Regions from separate parts of the Homo sapiens genome. Here region 2 is linked to region 1. The links are contacts of gene promoters, found by promoter capture Hi-C in human tissues and cell types (Jung and others, 2019). All regions are on one chromosome and are shown on one strand. Each heading gives the region's core, a stretch centred on a gene start or on the middle of the fragment in contact. The rest is flanking DNA. Distances are from core to core; before and after follow the strand shown.

Evidence for each region. The method cuts DNA at HindIII sites, captures the fragments that hold promoters and counts their contacts. A contact is called where the count stands out against the background at its distance.
Region 2: a fragment that was not itself captured here is called in contact with the fragment with the promoter of POSTN in region 1 in 1 of the 25 tissues and cell types used here (dorsolateral prefrontal cortex).

Annotation. Positions count from the first base shown.
Region 1 is chr13:37,596,603-37,602,180 of GRCh38, forward strand. It overlaps POSTN (periostin), which reads right to left and starts at 2,166. Exons shown (of 23, transcript NM_006475.3): 1 at 2,006-2,166; 2 at 582-680. The coding sequence starts at 2,124. The HindIII fragment of the contact is 6,079 bases long and covers 1,580-5,578 here.
Region 2 is chr13:37,014,837-37,020,414 of GRCh38, forward strand. It overlaps SUPT20H (SPT20 homolog, SAGA complex component), which reads right to left. Exons shown (of 26, transcript NM_001014286.3): 22 at 4,506-4,561; 23 at 2,409-2,528. Among named protein-coding and RNA genes, the nearest start is that of EXOSC8, 17 kb to the left of the region's middle. The HindIII fragment of the contact is 7,415 bases long and covers 1-5,578 here.

The sequences.
Region 1 (5,578 bases), core at 916-3,415:
TTGTGGACCTCTGGGGATGGAGCATCTTGAACGGAGAATCACTGGATTAAATAAAGAGATAAAACTCAAGTATTTTTTAACTTTAAACTTTGATGAAAACTCTCCGGTAAACTGGAATACTTTAGACAATTTCCAAATGACTAGAGACAAACATTAACTTTTTGCCTCAGAAACTCTGATATTTTAAATCAGTTTGTTTTTCTGGCCCACTTTTTTATAAAATGAGGAAACTAAGTCACAGAGGTTAAGTGACTTGCCTAAGATAAAAGAGGGCCAAACCAGGAGTAGAAACAACATCATTTACTCACACGGATTCTATACCCAATCCTGAGCCATGTGATCTGCTTCCTTCTGGCCTCCATGTCACATGGATTCAGGAAGAAATCTGAGTTCTAATAGTAATATTGGAGATGCAGGGAGAACTTCTTTATTCACGTATGTATTCCTTTCTTTTCTTTAAATAACTCTCACAATTTTGGTCAGTATTTTCAAGAAGAATGGTGTGTACACCCAGGGGAAGGCATATACATCATGATGTTGTTTTTGGAACTGACATATTATGAAAAAAAAAAGAGACTTACGTTTTCTGTCCACAGATGGACTTTTTATACCAGTTCTTACAAGTGCTGAAGTATTTCTTTTTGGTGCCCAAAATCTGTTGAAGGGCACAGACATTTGGGCTGGAGGATAGAGGGAAAGGAAAAAAGTTAATGTCCTAATAATGACTAGTTTTTCGTATCTAAAGATTGGTTGATAGAAGAAAATGTTGAGATGTGGATTTGATATCCAAAGACATGATTCTAGCCTTGCACAAATCTAATTATTGACACAATCCTACTGAATTGTTGAAAAACCGAAAGTCTACAGGAGGTGGCAGGGAGAGAGAGAAAAATTATACATTTCTGAGAGTAAAATACAAGCTTTTCAAAAAGTTAACCAACTAGGACTATTCAAACAGTATGAACGTAATTTTATTTCTATGTGCCTTATTACTTTTAATGGTAGATAATCTACTGACCCTTTTTAAACCAAGCATGTGCTCATTTGGAGGATGGCCATAACTTCAGGGCTCTCTGGAACAATGAGAGGTCAGAGAGCAAAAGAGACAAGGTTTATTATGTACACAGACACTATACTCTGTAATTTTCTAGGTAAGTAATCACAGAAGTAAATGTGCTAAAATTAACTTTGAAACAATATGGTTGCACAAAGGAGAATTTATCTTTTTGAATGGAAGTAACAGATCAGAACATCCTCTGTCACAATTTTAAGGTTCCCCTTCCCCTCTTAAAGGGACAGAAGTCTTTTTTCACTGTAAGTCAAAGAAGCTTGTGAACATTATGAAAATTCCTGTGAGGCATAGGAAGAAGTGCCAAGATCCGCTTAAAAAATTATAAATGGTTGGATAAGTTACAAAATTATGTGTAATTTTAAAAATGCTTAGTTGTAGTTGCATTAGTTCTATAAAATATAAATTACCTTTGCAAATTTTACAGAATTCAGAGTTTAAAAGTAACTTAAATGCTTCAAAGAATTCAGAGAACTAGTTACATTACCCAGTATTTAACCTTCATATGTAATTTAAATAAAATTTTCTCTAACATCATGTGAGATATTTCAATGCTGTTTGCATACATATGATAGTTCCTAACAATAGATTTTTTAATTTTGAAAACTCAATTTCAGATTTTTGGAAGAAAATAAAAACATAAATAAATGGAATTATAAAAGAATGCCCAGCTAAATTGTGTTAATTAGATTAGAATTATATAACATTTCATAAGAAAGCAATTATATTCAAGGTATTTAGAGAGCAATTAAGTCTTAAAGCTTAAAAGTGCATAGATAAATCACAGAATACTCACATTTTCCTTTTTTTCCTATTACTTTATAATAATTAGGAAAAAAAACCCTGAGGCATATATGAGAAACTTTATGCATACTTGAACATCTAACAAGCTGAGGAAAAAGAAAAATGGTTTATAAAACCAAACCACTCACTTACCCTTGGTCCCGACCCCTGATACGACTATGAGCCAAGATCTTGTCATAATGATTGTTGGCGTTTATAGGGTTAACAATAAGCAGCAATAGTAGAGAAAACATGGGTAAAAAGGGAATCATCTTGAGTCTCTCCGTTGCAGTTAGTCCCCGAAGAGAACTGGCAGTGGGCTTTGGAGAGCTCAGAATTTATATACATGTCAGAGTTGTGGGAGGGAACACTGCATCAACCTGAGAGTCTGAACTCTTTCCAGGAAGCATCGGCAACTTCAAATTGCCAGCTAAGATTTGTTTTGGTTAGTTATATTTAAGGAACACATTGAGCTACTTTTCCTTTTCATTATAAAGAAGGTACTTATTTTTAATCATATGAACAATTGACTCACTGCATGTTTAAGTCTCAGTTTTATTCCTTTGTATCTTAGAGGGTTTTTAAGAAAAATTCTTTTGTTGAGTTTTAAGAGATATTCTGCAATCCTTTCCAGAGTAGAATGTATAATGTCTGTGTGCTCAAGATTATTGTTAGGTGTTATTGCAGTTCACATCAGAACTGAAAGATTATTATTATTATTATTTTTACCAGAAAACAAAGGTAGATGCGAGTCTGACAATCACAAGGGGGTAAAGGCTGTTGATTAAAAACAAACTCTGGATAGATTTAAAACTTGTGTAAGATATGAAATAAGAATTCTAACTTGCTGAAGAACCATGTAGGAGAGTCCATATTTTCCTTGCTATCGTACAAAAAGGAGAGCTACCTCTCATTTCCTTTCTTTTTCAAATATCAAGGAACATATAGAGTTAACATAAATCTACTCTGACAAATTTCTCTAAGGTTTGAAATGAAGCAGAAAGGAAAAACATTTGTGCTTTATTGTTTTTCATGACACACTTTATGTGATGTTGAACATGTCTATGCAGCACATCTACTGATAACCACTGGTGAAAAGCAGCCAATATTGGAAGCAAGTGTTACGAATCTAGAGATAACTAGAACAATTAAATACATATTAGGAAACATGGACATTGCCAAAATGATTCTTCTGATTTTATCAAGAATAACTAAAGCCTTTCAATGTTACACTATGCAATCCCTAGCCAAAGGAATGTGCGTTCTTACTACTCCATGCATATGTCAAATGTTCAGAAAACTTTGGATAAAAGAAATCTGAATATCAGAGGGAAACAATGAGCTGAAATGGTAACCACAATCAGCTTCCTTGAATAAACAAGCTGCACACCATCCTAAAGTGTAATTCCAATCCATTTTGCTACAAGATGCTCCCTCTGTAATGTCATATCCATGTTCTTTTCCCACTGGTGAGGTAGAGAGATTTTGTCAGAATTCTCCTTGTTGTTCTATTGGGAAGGCTTTAGGGGAACTGGACTGAACTAGAGAGGATTCTGAGTATCCTGAGTTATGCTTAAACTCACTATGGGATATTAAAATATTCTACAACTTGCTGCTTAGTTTATTAAGAAAGCACACAGTGAAACCACAAATGCTGAAATATGATCGAGAGGCCATTTCAATATGAAAATCTTGGGATTAAGTTATAGAAAATGAAGGGGCAATTCAAAAGAAGAGCTGGAGAGGAGATAGCATAAAAGTTAAATTATATTCTGACCCTGGTCCTTTGTGGAAGGAAGAGTTTAGTCTATCATTTACATTTCTCTGAATGGAATCATTCTGACTTTATGAAGTCATCTTTTGCTTTATATTATAGCTTTCTATTACTCTTATGTTGTGCAAATGGCAGGTGGTCAGTAACTGCTTATTGATTAGGACGGATAAACTATCAATATTATTAAATTAGCTGTTAGGACATTCCTGGTTAAATGGATATATAAAAGTCTTCAACTCTAGACCAGTTAGACATTATAATATAGATTACACTGCTACTAATGCCACACTTTTCATCTTTAGACTGATGTAACTACTTACAGACCTTTTTGTAATGAAGCTGATATCTGCTCAAATCCAATAGGGTTTGACTGGAGGTGAAGGATGAGGTACTCAGAGAAAGAGATATAGACTTGTGTAATAAGTATCAAGGGTAAAAAAATATATATTTTTAAATACAGTCCGGAATGATAACTGATAGACCTGATTGTGAATACAAGGAGTGAAGGAAGAATCAAAATTTCCTGCCATGTTGCCTGCTTTCTTAATATTGCCTGGAACGAATTAAAATTTTATTGATTATTTTCAAGAACAATTTTAACCTAGTCGTTCTTTGCAACCAGTTTTATGCACTAGTATTAATGGCTTCCATTCATCGTGGCTCTTGCAGTTGTCTAAATTGACAAATAATTACATGAAATGAGTAGTGAAGATGGAAATGCAGTCATATTTCAAAAGATTACTTCTCCCTTCTGACAGGTGAGATTAATTTATGCTTTTTTGTGGAAAGCATGATATATGCTCATACAATTAAAAGAGAGGTCTTAAATCTTTCTTTTCACACTTCAAATAATAGAGACCATAAGTCTATCCATCCTGAGCATTATTTCTGGAACTTGTGTAAGTCCCATGAAAATCAACAAATAGCAGCCCTCAGTATTTAAAGTTAGGATTAGTAATGACATCACGAAAGATCTTGACAATGCAAGCCAGGTGTGCATACAAACTACCTGCAAATTTAGATGTTGGGGAATATCCCAAGAGAAGGAAAAAATTAGGGTAAACATAAAAAGATTATAGCACTGGAACTTAAAAAGCTAAGGCCAGGCCAGAAGTGTGATATTATATGCCTAATAGTGGGAGGAAGTCTCAGCAAGTTTTCGGTAGGATAAGGGAAGGAAACAGTTGTAAGAAAGATAATGGAAGAAAGAGTAGTCCAAGTTTTAGAGAAGATATTGAGAATCTTGCAAGGAACATAATTCTTCCCTTTCTGAGCACTCATCAAGGGTCAAATTTTCTCTCTCTCTTCCCTGCCCCCCACCGTCTCTCTTCACACAGGACCCTTATTCTTCTGCATCAGAAAAAGACAGTGACCCTGGGGTTGTCCATGTAATTTTCCTGGGAGATGGGAGGAAAATTGAAATGATGATAATTAAGTCTGACTTTCAGGGTTGCAAAATGTGACCCAGAAATATAAGTCATTCATGAAAACTAAATGGTTTACTATGTAACTGAAGAAAAATAATGTGACTGAAAGAGAGGATCATTTGTTTCTAGCTGTCGGGATGCTAATGTATTGTCAGTTTGCAAATTATCTAGTGGATCTTTGTAACAAGACTTGTAGCCTCTGGAGACTATGAACTCATTGTAATATCATGCTTACTGCCGCCAGCATGTAACTAACCTTAAACTTGCCCTATACTGTCTAAGATTGGACATAGACTGTGGATTCAACAAACCTGGATACTCAAGCCAAGTGCAGATTTTTTAAAAGTAAAAATTTCCTTGGTTTTGCATGATCCAGAGTAGCTATTTGTGCCAAATTATTTCTAAGCCCCTGCTTTTTAACATATAGGTTACAGGATCGTGAAAACATTTCTTGAGCATCACTTTGCTTTCTTTCTGGCCTATTTGCAATCTACATGTAGTTTGCAACTTACTTGTAAAACATAA
Region 2 (5,578 bases), core at 1,455-3,954, 580 kb before region 1:
CATTAAAAGGATCCACAGGAAAAACATGGAAAAATCAATTCTGACACACACACCAGTGAAAATATTAGACAAGCATTCAGGGCCTCTAGGCAAACTGCTTAAATAAACTTACAAGAGCAAGATAATTAGACTGGCATCAGATTTCTCAAAAACATATAAAGCAAGTCAACAGTAGGAAGAGTTCTTAATAAATTTAAAGGAGACCTAAAACTAGAGAACATTTATAAGAAAACAAGTGAAAATGCTTCAGGACATTGGATTTGGCAATGATCTTCAATATGATACCAAAAGCACAGGCAAGAAAAGTAAAAAGAGAAAATGAACTACATTAAAATAAAAAAAAAAAAAACTTCTGTGCAATGGATGCAATCAAGAGTGAAAAGACAACAAATGGGAGAAAATATCTGGAAATCAAACATCTGATATATGTGTATATGAAGAATGAAGAACTCCTACAATTCAACAACAAAAATTAATCTGAAAAAAAAAAAATGGGCAAGGGACCCAAACAGACTTTTCTCCAAAGATGGTACACAAATGGCCAACATGCATATGAAAAGATGCTCCACACCACTAGTCATTAAGGAAATGCCAATCAAAACCACAATGGGATTATCACCTCACACCCATTAGGAAGGCTGCTTAAAAAAAAAAAAAAAAAATTCCCTAAAGACCCAACCACCACCAGAAAATAACAAGAGTTGGCGAGGATTTGGACAAATCGAGATCTCTGTATGTTGTTGATGGGAATTAGGTAAAATGGTACAGCCACTATGGAAAACAGTATGATGCTTCTTAAAAAATTAAAAATTACCACATGAACCAGCAATCCAACTTCTGGGTATATATCCAGAAGAGTTGAAGACAGGGTCTCAAAGAGATAATTGTACACTCACACTCACACTAGCATTATTTACAATAGCCGAAAGGTGGAAGATACCCAAGTATCCATCAGTGGATGAATGGATAAACAAAATATGGTATATACAAGTATTATTCACCATGAAAAAGGAAGGTGATTCTGACACATGCTATAAAATGAATGACCCTTGAAGACTTTATGCCAAGTGACATAAGTCAAACACAAAAGGACAAATAACTATATAACTGCACTTATATGAGGTATCTTGAATAGTCAAACTCATACTAACATAAAGTAGAATAGTGGCCGAGGGGAGGAGTTGTTATTTACCAGATATAGTTTCAGTTTTGCAAGATGAAAAAGTTCTATAATAGAAATCTGTTGCATAACAATGTGAATACACTTAACACTGCTGAATTGCACACTTAAGAAGTTAAAATGGTAAGTTTTGGCCAGGCACGGTGGCTCATGCCTGTAATCCCAGCAGTCTGGGAGGCTGAGGTGGGCGGATCACGAGGTCAGGAGATCAAGACTATCCTAACATGGTGAAACTCCGTCTCTACTAAAAATACAAAAAAAAAATTAGTCGGGCGTGGTGGCACATGTCTGTAGCGACAGCTACTCGGGAGGCTGAGGCAGGAGAATCGCTTCAACCCAGGAGGTGGAGGTTGCAGTGAGCCAAGATTGTGCCATTGCACTCCAGCCTGGGCAACAGCGCGAGACTCTGTCTCAAAAAAAAAAAAAAAGTTAAAATGGTAAATTTTATGTGTACCTTAAAATTAATTTTTTTAAAAGAAAATCAAAGATTTTATATCTAGCCAAGCAATCTTTAATGTGTTTAGAATGAAAAAACAGTAAGTTTTTAATGTGCCCTTCCTGAGGACTCTATTAGAGGATGAGCTTTATCCAACCAAGACCTGACTGGGGGAAACTGGGCAAAAGGACTAATGGTGAATATTTCATATAATTTGTGAGATAGAGAAACTCTGGATTTGGGACTCAGGAATCAATATTTTTTTAATTTCCCAGATGACTCCAGTGTACCCAAAGTTTAGAAACACTTGTACTTCCTTCTTCTACTGTCATTTATTGCAATTCTTATTCAATTTCTTTCCCTTTGGCAGTGTACACATTTGTTTTTGTCTGTGTTCCCACTGCCCTACATTTTATGATAATAGGGATATCTTTATTCCAATAGCAACAAAATCCTAAAAACAGAAAGATAATGATGGGGTAGAAAATACATGAGTGATAGGGGCACAAAGACCTAGGTTTGAATCTCTGGCTCTGCCACTCACTGTATGGCTAAGAGCAAGCCATTTATCTGGATCTCAATCATCTATGCAAGATGCAGGTGATACCATCTATTCAGTATGGTATGACTGTTTTATTAGGAATACACACCCAATAGCTGATTGCTACTATTGTTAATAAAAACAGTACAGGAAATGTTTACACTAACAAAGCAAATGAAGTATGCTTGGAATATACCAAAAAATGTTATAAATTCGATGTAAAAGCATATGGAAGGCTAGAAAATCCATACCTGCTCCCCTGGCTGTTGAGGACTACAAGTTGTGGGCTGCTGAGGTTGTTGTGGTGTAAACTGGGAGAGCTGCTGTTGCTGCTGCTGCAGAGTGTTAAAAATAAGTGAACCACCTGGAAGCTATTAAGAATTTAAACAAAAATTAACCAATTTCACATGATTTTATATCAAATATTTAAATTTATTCTACAAATATTTTTGGATCATTTGCTATGTGTCACTCTTCTAGTTATTGAAGAAACAGGTAAAGAAAAAACAAGTTGGCTGCCCTTAAAAAAAAGACCTATTTAGAAACTGTTTTTAAGTCCTATTACTTTGGGCTCCCAAGTATGCTAATACTCTTAAACATAAATTTTTCTGCTTCAAGCTAGTAGTTAGCTATTCCAATTCACATGCTATTTTTCATTTCACTCTTTTTATACATCAATACAAAAGAGCACTAAATACATTAGAAAGTACAAACAAGCAGCTTATGAATCAGAAATGTATACTACGAAAAGCCACCCCTCATAAATTTGTTCTAGTTTTGCCAAAAACACAAATATTATACAAGATCTTTTGTATAACACAGTGAGGAATTTCAAAGCTGAAAAGAAAGTGCATTTAGATGTCCATATTTATTCTGTAGACCACTACTTTCTCTTTCATTCAAATCTAATTTGAATTTAATCCAAATTAAAAAACAATTTTTAAAGAAGCACTCAGAAAACTCCAGGTTAAAAGGGAAAACAATGCTTTTCAAATGCACCAAAAAACAAACAGTTTTTCCATTTTAAGCTATAGGGGTTTATATACGGACCACTTTGAGGTCCTTAGGAGAATGTCCAAGACAATACCAAATACAGAACTCTTAGGTCTGTATAGTCAAAAAAATAATAATAAAAAAAAAATAAAAAATCCTTGGGTCAAAGTATCTATCTATATCCATCACAGCTCATCATTAGGTAAATCTAGACACAGCACAGATCAAATGTTCCTTCCTCAATCAGTATACAGTAAATGTAGAAAAATATAACAAACTAAAGGATTTCCATTCCTGTTAACACTGAGACTGATCCCTAAGAAAATTTCAAAAGCAATATGCCGGAAGGTAGGCTAAATAAACAAATGCAATTTGTGGGCTTGCCCATATTATAAGTATATTGTTCTGCAATTAGTCTGTAAACATACTGCATCGTATATAGGAAACAAGTTTTAAATTTTAGCTCTAATGAGAATTTCCCGATTTGTTAATCCTGAATACCAGGGTGGCTGATCTGTTATTGTTATTTCCCATCAATCCATAGCTCTACTATGTTACATATCCAGATCTTTATAGTCACGTCTATCCATTTTCCAAACTACTAGCTTAAAGCTTACTCCTTCTTTAAATTAGAGGACCTAGCATAACACGAGGAATGTTGTAAATTCACCCCCCTTGTTTTTCTTTTGAGGCAGGATCTTACTCTGTTGCCTAGGCTGGAATGCAGTGGCACAATGTCAGCTCACTGCAGCCTCGACTTCCTGGGCTCAAGTGATCCTCCGACCTCAGCCTCTTGAGTAGCAGGGATTACAGGTGCATGCTACCACGCTTGGCTAACTTTTTGTAGTGATGGGGTTTTACCATATTGCTCAGGCTGGTCTCGAACTCCTGAGCTCAAGCAATCCACCCACCTGGGTCTCCCAAAGTGGTGGGATTCTAGGTGTGAGCAACCATGTACGGCCCACATACCTATTTTTTAAATCTCCTTCAAGCACAAAAAAAAACCAGTATTACATATATGTATACATAAAACATCTGTTGGGAAAGCAATTATTTTCTAAATACATCCACTATTATTATTGTAGGGAAGTATCCTCCTTGGTAGGTGCAAATTCTCCCCACTAGCACAGCTAGTTCTTAATTAGGCAGGGCTACTGGAGCCAAAGTGTGGTATATAGGATACTGATTCTTTCTCTTTATCCGCTTGATCATACAAAGGTAGCAATAATAACCACACCCTTAGAAGAATCTAAACAGACCTCAGAATTTCAAGTGCTGATACATATAGATATACATTGTTTAGAAAAAAAGTCAATGTACAAAAAATTTAATCAAAAGCAGTATTTCAGGTTTACCTGGAGTAGATTTAAGGGCCTGAGACTTGAAGTATTTTTTAAACCAAATGGAACACCTGTTAAATAAAACTCATGGTTATAACAGAATTGAAAGTTTATTACACATGAAAATAATTTATACTTTAGTATATATAAGTACAATAATTTTATGTATTCTCTGCATAGATGTGCTTATTTTCCATACTTCAAAAATATCTTAAAAACAAAAGATTGTCTTCAATATTTATCAATACTGAGATTTTATTCAAAGTTGTGAAGCACCAGATGCACATTATATTCTATATTTCAGAAACTGGGACTTCTTTTTCATTCTTCTGACTGTTGGCTGAACAAAGAGTAATCAAGAATTATGTGAACACCATGAATATAACAAAACTATCACTGCTGTGCAAATACATTCCAGGTATTGGCATCTATTTACATTTCTCAATGCTACATAGTATACTATAATAATCATATCTCTAAGAACCGGTGTGCTTTATGCTATTTTTTTTTAACTAAAAATGTTAATCAGAATGCTAAAGAATGTTGCAATTTGTGTATAAAGATCAAAACAGAGTCAGGAAACAGTGCTCTGTTAATTTAAACTTATTCCTAAAAAATCTGTTACATTAACACAGAGCATATCTTAAAGCTGGGGGTGACAAACGTTTTCAATAAAGGGCCATCATGTGGGCTTTGTGAGCACAAATGGCCTCTGCTGCATTTTCTTTTCATAATCCTATAAAAATGTAGTAACCATTTCTAGCTTAGGCTGTGTGCTGTAGTTTGTTGATCCTGGTCTCAAGGTATGTATATATTTTGCTAACAAAATATACTAATTTGAACACTATTTAAAAATGTATCTAGTTCTCTATCATATCATTTTTTTTTTTTAAAGATTTAAGGGAAGAAATGCACATGTAACACTAGCGAAGCCTTGTATAAGAAACTGAAATTTGGCAAAAATATCCCTTTCTGGAAAAATTCTCATTTAAGAAAATGGCTTAACCCCCTTTTAAAAGTGGATGACATCTGTATAATGCTTTCTAGCTTACCAAAGGCACTTTCATACTTCATTTAGTTCTCTTAAG